2 separate regions of the Homo sapiens genome follow, and region 2 is linked to region 1. The links are contacts of gene promoters, found by promoter capture Hi-C in blood cells and fetal thymus (Javierre and others, 2016). All regions are on one chromosome and are shown on one strand. Each heading gives the region's core, a stretch centred on a gene start or on the middle of the fragment in contact. The rest is flanking DNA. Distances are from core to core; before and after follow the strand shown. Region 1 holds the start of HRH4 (histamine receptor H4). Region 2 overlaps OSBPL1A (oxysterol binding protein like 1A).

The links. Contacts are between HindIII fragments. The CHiCAGO score rates a contact against its expected background, and 5 or more counts as called.
Region 2: a contact is called between a fragment that was not itself captured here and the fragment with the promoter of HRH4 in region 1, in 1 of 17 cell types (M2 macrophages). The highest score is 5.9, in M2 macrophages.

Annotation. Positions count from the first base shown.
Region 1 is chr18:24,458,926-24,463,852 of GRCh38, reverse strand. It overlaps HRH4 (histamine receptor H4), which reads right to left and starts at 3,216. Exons shown (of 3, transcript NM_021624.4): 1 at 2,932-3,216. The coding sequence starts at 3,124. The HindIII fragment of the contact is 429 bases long and covers 2,865-3,293 here.
Region 2 is chr18:24,363,583-24,369,002 of GRCh38, reverse strand. OSBPL1A (oxysterol binding protein like 1A) reads left to right here. Exons shown (of 28, transcript NM_080597.4): 3 at 631-716; 4 at 2,037-2,111. The region is part of intron 2 of LOC124904268 (a long non-coding RNA gene); the gene reads right to left. Among named protein-coding and RNA genes, the nearest start is that of OSBPL1A, 32 kb to the left of the region's middle. The HindIII fragment of the contact is 6,429 bases long and covers 1-5,420 here.

The DNA of each region.
Region 1 (4,927 bases), core at 1,967-4,466:
TACAGATGAGGTGTATTTATATAACGTCCGGTATAGCTAGTACTAGAATTTTTCCTCAATAAATCTTTGCTCTCAACAGTAAATTCAGCCTGAGAAATTAGCAACTTGGGTGCCACAAATTTAGATTCTCCGCAGAGGGCCAGTTCTGAAACCTGGGGGGAAGAGGGCATTCAGCCAGCAAAGCCACAGTTCCAAGCACATGTGAGGGTCTAATCTGCCCTGCCATGGTCACATGGCTCTGGAGCTCTGGATCTCATGACCCCAAATGTTAAGAATCAATGGCTAACAGCTGCAGAAAACCTCTCACGAGTTCTGCCCTGCATGCTCACCACGTCCACGCCTTCTTCCAGGCTGAGACAAAAGGTTCATTTCCCAGCATGGCAAAGGAGAAAGAACAGCACTGCCAGAAAACTTGAATCCTGTTACAAAAAGCTCCCAGGGACTGTGTCATGGTGAGCCCTGCATTAAATATGCAGACCTCTGGATGAAGCTGGCAGGAGGCAGGGGAGATGTGAGGGATGAGGCTGGCAGGCAGATGAAAGGAGACTCTGACCTGCACCCAACTCCTTTAATCAGGAGCAAAAGAAATTATCAGAATTATATCTTCACCCACCTGCTGATGGAGGAGATCACCAGGACTGCTGAATAACTACATCTGCAGGGCCATTTTCCAAAGACAAGCTCAAGCCCTTGAGGGTGGGACTGCCATGATGCTGGTCTTGGGCCAGACATGGAGACATTTTTACCTAGAACCATCTTGATTCAAAAGCTTCAGGCCCCAGGCTCTCTCAGCTGTCTCACCCTTCCCACCCTAAAACTGGGGCAGTCAGGGCCTCACTCCCTTTGGGTTAGTAAAAGCACATCATCTATTTTAAGTGATGACTGTCATCTAAAAGTCACAAGATCCTGTGAAGAAGGAAGAAGCAAAGGATACATATATTTATAGTGGAACTTTCTCTATGTTCACATAAATAAACTCGTGTATTTGTACATGTTTATGGGAGCACAGAGAATGATGTGGAAGGATCTACATCAAGCAGCAAATGTTGGTTACCTGAAGGGACAGAATTGAGGAAACAAATGTGGAGACAGTGCATTTTTTCAATACTTCTTTATGGGTTAGCTGCCTTTATGTGTCATTTCTATGCCATGACTCCTAAATCAATCTCCCCAACTAGAATTTTTCTCCAGAACTTTCAGTGCAACATCAGAACCAGAGCTGTCCTGCCCAAATACTTCCTGTTTCTTTGAAGAGCACCGTACCGTTCTTAGTCTCAGAAGCCCAATCTTTAACTCAGCTTTCTCTTTTCCCGCCCAACCACACCCTTAGCTGCTCTGCCTGTTGGCCTTCCTTTCCAATCATCCTAGCTCAGGTCCTAACTGCATGATTTCTGCCTAGATTGCTGCAGGATCATCTCTGAAAGCATGCCGCCCCACACTCCAGTTTCCCCATTTCCTACGGCTCTTCCGATGTCTCTAAAGTAAAGCTTTGATCTGTTCAACCACTCTCCTGTTTTAAAATCTTTAAATCTCCACAAGGCCTGCTGAATAAATTCCACTCCACACTCACGCTGGTATTTAAAGGCCCTCACTTTATAGATTTCATCTTCATCTCTACGGCTCCCCTGCACCTATCTGCACACCAGCCAGCTCCAAGCTCACTCACCCTTAGGAAGATAAGCACAATGATTTTCTACCAGCATGCCTTTGCTCATTCTTGGAGCAAAGAATCCTTCGCCCTATCTCTGACTATGGAAATTCTATCCATCTTTCAAAGTTCATGTTAAATGCCTCTATTCGCTAACTAAACGTGCTTTATCCCTCCTCCAAGTGACCATAGCACTTCTTAGGTCTTCGTGGGGTCTCGTGTTACTCTATACTGCTATAGTCATTTCTGAACATCTCTTGTCCACTCTTCTACATCAAAAACTTACTGGAAGAGACTAACCTAATCTTCTATAGATCCCTTGATTACCTAATAGTGCTTGCATACCTAGCAGTATTATACAGGCTAGATACTATACTAACATTTGTGACCTAGATTGGGGTTGACCCATATCTGCAGAGAAATTAAAAAAAAAAAAAAAAGAGAACTAACATTTGTTGAGTAACAACTGTATTCCAGGGAATGAACTAAGTATTTTGTGTGTTTATTTCACTTTAACATAAATGTAAGCTTTATGTAGTTATAGACAAAAATAATCTGAATATGCCAGATTAAATTATACTAGAAACTCCTGTAAAATAGTATCATCAGCTGACATTTCTGTACATCTACTTATTATGATAAGCATTGTTTAAAAATAAGAAGCATCAGGCAGTGAAAAATTATAAAGTGCGTGTTTTCAGAGAAAGTTGGTTTGATTTCTATGGTCTCTTAACGATGATATAATGCTATGATATCATATTATATGCAAGGCAGTTTACAGTTGGGTATATTTTACAAAATTCTATGCCATATCATTAAATTAATACTATTAATCATATTATTTAATTGATCTGAATACGCTATTTTCTGATTGCACTGGTTACTAGCATATACATAATTTCTTATTACTCCAACATTGTGATACCAACAAAACCATATTTACTTAAAGAGGAATACTTATAAGCCTAAACATATGAGGAAAATAGCACCAGAAACAAGTAACTCTTACATTAAAATTTTGGAGCTATACTGGACTTATCTTTATTCTATAAAAAGAAAATAAACTGTTTTCAGCTGAAAATTCCCCTACCACACTGATTTACATATGTATAACATTCCCTTACAGTGCCATATAGCCCCCTCCAAAATTTAATACTTAAACTTTTTGTGTTTATTTTTCCCCAGTTGTATACAGTCCCCTGAAATAACAAAAGCTTATTTTAAGGATTTAGAAATAAATTAAAATCGGAAAAGACTGTCTTAAATAAAGACATATAACTTACCCACAAAGAAGTCAGAGATGGCCAAGTTAAGAAAAAAATAACTACTTCGATGTCTAAGGTTTTTGTCCACCACAAAAGCTAAAATGACCAAAGCATTTCCTAGCATTATAGCAAAAGCTACTAAGGACATAAAAAATGCTAAAGTAACACGAGTGCTTAGTGATAAATTGATTGTGCTATTAGTATCTGGCATCACATCAAATGATGAAGAAGGTCAAATTAGCAAATTAATCCAGCCAGACAATTCTGACAAGTATGTTTTCTAATCACATACCTAAAATGTGTAGTCTTCCACTCAAAACAACACTGTTTTAATCTAATGCTGATCTCATAGTACTTCCTGATTCTTGATAAAGTAAGCTTGTGGTAACAGTTTCCCTTTAACTGACACTGAGAAAGTATTTCCAAAAAACAGTGAAATGTTTTACCTTAAACATTTTACTGTGATGCATCCATCTCCATTATTAGAATAAAATCATGTAATATCTATAAAATATAATCATTATACAGGAAATAAATTGGGCTCACACAAGGTTCATTGTTGTTGTTGTTGTTGTTGTTGTTGTTGTTGTTGTTGTTGTTTGGAGATGGAGTCTTACTCTGTTGCCCAGGCTGGAGGCCACTGATGTGAGCTCGGCTCATTGCAACCTCTGTCTCCCAGGTTCAGGCGATTCTCCTGCCTCAGCCTTCCAAGTAGCTGGGATTCCAGGCACTCATCACCATGCCCAGCTAATTTTTGTTATTTCTTGTAGAGATGGGGTTTCACCATGTTGACCAGGTTGGTCTTGAGCTCATGACCTAAAGTGATCCACCCACCTCGGCCTCCCAAAATGCTGGGATTATAGGCATGAGCCACCACACCAGGCCATTTTTAAAACTCGTGTAGATTCAGTTCAATATTCTCATCTGGCCATGATGGAGTAACAGGGGCTGAATTTCACAATCCCATCTGAAACAGCCAAAAAACTAGACAATGGTTTTCAAGGCACTTGTCATTAACAAGGAAGGACGGTGATCCCTGAGAGAACGGATGAGGTCTGCAGTTGCCCCACCTTACTATCTTGAGAGTTCCCAGGGCATGGGCAGAGAGGGGAAATCCAGGCAGAGCCCAGGAGACTCCCTGGGATGAGGAAATGGAGTTGAGAGTACAGGAGTACCAGAGAGGATTCTGAACTGCAGAGCCACACTGAGCAGAACTCCAGAGATCTGCAGAGGACCCCCTTCAAGTATTCACCAGAGTACTGATTAGCACTTGTGGAGGAACTGTTTTTAGGCAAGAAAAAGAACCACTCGAAAATATTAGAGGCAATAGTACCCAATGCTCACAGAGGGCTGGTTATAGTGCCTGCTCCCATTAGCCAAATGGAAAAAGTTCCTAATTCATGGGACGTTGGGCAGTACATTCAGAAGGGTCTTGCCTCAGTAGTCAGGAATAATTAGCCCTATACTAAATATTTCTTGGGTTCTTCCTAGCAAATCTTAAAAGCAAAACCTGAAAGGATCAAACTGTTTCCAAGCAGCTTAATTGCAACCCTGAACACAGCTCAAGAATATTTATATAACATAAAAATATCCAGTACCCAACAATGTAAAACTACAATGTCTTAAATCCAATTAAAAATTATCTGACATGCCAAGAAGCAGGCAAATGTGATCTATAATAAGGGGAAAAACATCAATCAATTGAAGTCAACTCAGAAATCACACAGATATTAGAATTAACAGACAAGAACATTAAAATAGTCAGATGGAATATGGAAAAACGAAAATGGAATATAGCTGTATTCCATATTTTCAAAAAGATATGTAAAGATATAGAAGATTTTTTAATCAAACATCTAGAAATAAAAACTAGAAGGTCTGGACTAAACATACATTGGAAAGGATTAATGGCAGAGATTGCAGAAGATAAGATTAGTGAACTTAAACATGTAATGATATAATCCACCTACAATGAAACACAGAGATAAAAGAGATTTTTTTTAATTAACAGTGT
Region 2 (5,420 bases), core at 1,944-4,443, 95 kb after region 1:
AACCACACACTTTCAGAGAGTTCCTGAGAACTCACTCACTGTCACGAGAATAGCAAGAGGGAAATCCGCCCCTATGATCCAATCACCTCCCACCAGGCCCCTGCTCCAATTCAACATGAGATATGGGTGGGGACAAATCCAAACCACATCACAGGTGCTGCAGGAACTATCCTTTACTGACTCTTGATGTGGTACAGGTGTACAGAGAGTTGCTGTGAGCTGCCTTCAGCTCCTCCATACCCTCCTGATACAGGTTTTCAAAGAGAGTTGCTTGTCGTGAACTATGTCAATAAAACCCCTCTTGACCTGATGATGGCAAGATGATTAAAGACTCGGAGCCCTAGAGTCAAGAAGCTGCTAGAGATCATCTAGCTCGAATGTAACCCCCGTCCTGTCTCCCTCTATCCCTTTAGAGGTGAAGACATCGAGTCAGAAGGTGGCACCAGATCTGCACCTTGTGAGTTCTCGTCCTTTACACCCATTACACTTCTTGGTCACATATCTTGCCTCTCACTTATCAGCAATGCATTGCAAAGGAGATTATTGAGGTAGCTTGTTATGGAGAAGTTAATTTCGTTGTAAAATTACCTAAATATGACCTAAAAATACCTTATATTTTTCCATTTTTAGGAAGAAGTAAGTCTAACTTGGGCTGGACACCTCTACATCTGGCATGCTATTTTGGACACAGACAAGTGGTCCAGGATCTGTTGAAGGTCTATTTATGACTTTAATTTTTAATGACTACAGTAAATATTATTGTTATGGAAATTTTAAGATGAAAGTCTTAGAAAAGCCACCTGAGCCATAATGACTTATTTAAAGCAATAGTTCATCATTCAAGACACTTAATTGTTCTTTATTAAATAAATACATGAATTAGGTTAGCCTGATTAATTAAAATTGTATGTTTAATCATTAGATTTTTTTATTACTAGCTTTTAAAAATAATAAAAGTAGGCATATTAATGAAGATTTTATTTTCAGTTCTGAGTGTGACAGTTGAAAAAATAACCAAAGCACACCCTAAATAATTAAAAAATAATGTCAATACACAAATAAAAATTAAAAAGAAAAAACAATGTCACAATCTCTTAGCACTGTATTTAAAGAGAATTGAGAGCTCATATTTCTTAATTCTATGATGAATAACTTCTCACATTCTGATAGTTCTGAAATTTGCTTGCATCTTACAATTCATCTGTACATTTAAATAATGGCATCTTTTTTCCTCAAAACTTATTAAATTGATAAAGGAGGAAATGTGGTATTTCATTCAGAGATCATTCTCCTTTTTTCAATATGACTGCTTCTAAAGTAGAGTGAAGGTGTATGGATTTTTTTTTTTTTTTTTTTAATCAAGACAAGGCCTCACTTTGTCACCCAGGCTGGAGTGCAGTGGCGTAATCTCGGCTCACTGCAGCCTTGACCTCCCAGGTTCAAGTGATCCTCCTGCCTCAGTCCCCCAAATACTGGAGCTATAGGCACGTGCCTCCACACCTGGCTAATGTTTTTCTATTTTTTGTAGAGACGGACTTTCACCATGTTGCCCAGGCTGGTCTCAAACTCCTGAGCACAAGCAATCCGCCCACGTCAGCCTCCCAAAGTGCTAGGATTACAGGTGTGAGCCACTGCGCCTGGCCAAGGTGTATAGATTTTTAGTGAAAAGTACCTTTTTACTTTTTATTTTTCTACCTATCAGGTAGATTTTTACCTTTCAGAAAACCTACCATATATACACTACTATATGTGTACATATATATATATATATATAAGATGGAGTCTCGCTATAGTGCCAGACTGGCCTTGAACTCCTGGGCTCAGATGATTCTCCTGCCTCAGCCTCCCAAGTAGCTGGGACTATGGGCTCAAACCACCGTGCTGGCTTTTTATTGTTACTTTAAATTTAATTTATTGTTAGTACTGACACCTAAACAATATTAACAATTTTAATTTTTTAAGGCCTTAATATATTTTGAAGGAATGATTTTCACCATTGTATATTTCTTGGTATTTAAAGTGGTCATGTTTACTAGGCTGGTGCAGAAGTGAATGTGTTGAATGACATGGGAGACACGCCGCTTCATCGAGCTGCCTTTACAGGACGAAAGGTGAAAATCATTCTATGTTCAATGTTTGTAAGTGAGGTATTTGGAGGAGTAGTTACCATTGTTTTCTCTGTTATAACCATCTGACCAGCAACCGAAGAAAGCCACACAAAAAAATGTATACACCAGCACTTTGGGTCAAAAGGCCACAGGATCTTTGAGTCTGACAGTGAGGTCCAGTACTAAGGTCATGGAGACCCCCACTCTGTAGCATCCCTGTGAGGAGATCATTCCGTTTCTGCTTGTGTACTCCAGCAATGGGGAACTCCTGATTATTCTTTTTTTTAAAAAAAAAATAGCTTCATTGAGGTATAACTTACATTGCATAAACTTCACCTGTGATATTGTGAAATATATATTTGGTCTTTGACCTTGTACACTAAAGATGTACAAAAAGATGGCTGGCAACCCCTAGGTGGCTTCAGGATGGGGGCTGGTCACCAGAAAGACCAAGGCAGGACTAGGGGGTTGGGACTTTCAGCCGAACTTTGCAACCTCCAGGGAGGGTAGAGGGGCTGAAGGGGAAATGGCTCGCTAATGGCCAGTGGTTTCATCAATCATGCCTATTTAATGGAACCTCCATAAAAACCTGAAAGGACAGGGTTCTAGGAGCTCCTGGGTAGCTGAACACGTGGAGGTTCTTGAATGATCACACCCAGGGAGGGCATGGGTGCTCTGTGCCCTTCCTCCATGCCTTGCCCTATGTATCTCTTCATCTGTATCCTTTGTAATAAAGCAGTAAACATGTTTTCCTGAGTTTTGTGGGCTGCTCTAGCAAATTAATGGAACCCAAACAGGGAGTCATGGGAACCCTAATTTAAAGACCATCAGTCAGAAGCTCTGGAGGTCTGGACCTGCAGCTGGTGTCTGAGGGGTGGGGAGAAGTGCTGGGACTGAGCCCTCACCTGTGGGATTAATGCTATCTCTGGGTAGATAGTGTTGGAATTGAATTGAAGGACACATAGCTGGTATTTGCTGCAGAACTAATTGCTTGCTTGGTGGTGGGGAGAACTGCCCCCACCCATATTTGGTCACAGAAGTCTTTAGTGTTACTTGCTGTAGTAGGAGAGCAGAGGAAAAGCATAATTTGATCACATATTGTAAGTGTGCATTTTAGTGATTTTTATACATTTACAAAATTGTGCAACATCACCAAAATCCAGTTTTAGAACATTTCTGTCACCCCAGAAGTTTCCTCATGCCTGTTTATATTCATCCCCTTCCCCTTTCCCATGCCCCAGGGTACCACTGAATTGTTTCCTTTCTCTAGATATTAGATATTTGCCTTTCCTAAACTTTTTTTTTTTTTTTGAGACCGAGTCTTGCTCTGTCGCCCAGGTTGGAGTGCAGTGGTGTGATATTGATTCACTGCAACTTCTGTCTCCCGGGTTCAAGCAATTCTCCTGCCTTAGCCTCCCAAGTAGCTGGGATTACAGGCACCCGCCACCATGCCCAGATAATTTTGGATTTTTAGTAGAGATGGGGTTTCACCATGTTGGCCAGGCTGGTCTCGAACTCCTGACCTTAGAGGATCCACCCACCTCAGCCTCCCAAAATGCTAGGATTACAAGCGTGAGCCACCGCACTCGGCCTAAACATTTCTTGTAAACAGTATCATACAAACTTTTGTGTCTGGCTTCTTTAATTTAGCATAATGTCGTTGAGGTTCATCCATGCTGTAGCATGTATCAGTAGTTTGGTCTTTTTTATGGCTGAATATTCCACTGTATGGATACACCATCTTTTGTTATCTGTTCAAGTTTTATTGAAAAGACTATCTTTTTGCATTGTATTGCCTAGATACCTTTGCTGGAAATCAGTTGACCATAATTTAAATGTTTCTGGATTTTTTTTTTTTTTTTTTTTTTTGTTGTTGTTTTTTGAGACAGGGTCTCGCTCTTTCACCCAGGCTGCAGGGCAGTGGCACAGTCTCAGCTCACTGCAGCCTCCGCCTCCCAGGCTCAGGTGATCTTCCCCTCTCAGCCTCCTGAGAAGCTGGAACTACAGGTGTGTGCCACCATACCTGGCTAATTTCTTGTATTTTTAGTAGAGACGGGGTTTCTCCATGTTGCCCAGGCTGGTCTCCAACTCCTAGGCCACCCACCTCGGTCTCTCAGAGTGTCGGGATTACAGGCATGAGCCACCATTCCTGGCCTGAAGTTTTCAACATAGAGATCTTGCAGTCCTTTTCTTAAATGTATTAACCAGCCTGGCTTTAATCTGTGGAATCTGGACTGAGTCTGGCCAGCTAATATATCTGCTGAGTTAAAAAAAAAAAATTAAAAAAAAATTGTTTGTTTGTTTTAGAGACAAGTCTCACTATATTGCCTAGGCTGGACTTGAACTCCTGAGCTCAAGTGATCTTCCTACCTCAGCCTCTTGAGTAGCTGGGACTGTAGGCATGCACAACTGTGCCTGGCTTTCAGCATAGTATTTTAGGATTCATGCCTGCATCTGTGTAGCCTAGTGGTGAGCCTGTATTTGAGCAGCAGTGGGCTCCATTACTCAATCCCCTTAGGCTTCTGTGCTCTGCCCTGGATCTATGTGTAGGCTGGAGAGTGCTTTCAGAGTCCAGGCATTTCTCGCTTCTTCCTCTGCTCTGACTTTTGCAAGGCCCCCTCTCCTTTCTCCTGCAAATGTGTGGAGTTTCCCAGCAGCCTGGGGTACCTGGGAAGCTCACCTACTCCTACTCCAGTTCTTTTGTTTTCAGGGTTGTCTCATTAAGTTTTAGGCTGTTTTGCCATTTGCCTGTGTGGTAGGCAGAATCATGGCCCTCCAAAGACATCCACATCCTAATCCCCCAAAACTTGTAAATATGTTAGATTACACAGCAAGGGGAAGTTAAAGTTGCAGATGGAGTTGAGATTGCTCATCAGCTAACCTTAAGGTAGGAAAATTATTTTGGATTATCTCGGTGGGCCCATTGTAATCACAGGTGTCCTTAGAAGTGTAAGAGAGGCTGGACACAGTGGCTCACGCCTGTAATCTCAGCACTTTGGGAGGCCAAGGTGGAAGGATCACTTGAGCACGGGAGTTTGAGACCAGCCTGGGCAACATAGGGAGAATCCCATCTCTAAAAAAAAAAAATTGCCTGGTGTGGTGGTGTGCATCTGTAGTCCCAACTGCTCGGGAGGCTGAGGTTGGAGGATCACTTGAGCCGGGGAGGTCGAGGCTGAAGTGAGCCATGATTTCACCACTGCACTCTAGCCTGGGTGACACAGGGAGACCCTATAAGAAAGAAAGAAAGATAGAAAGGAAGGAAGGAAGGGAAAAGAAAAGAAATAGCTGGATGTGGTGGCATACTCCTGTAAT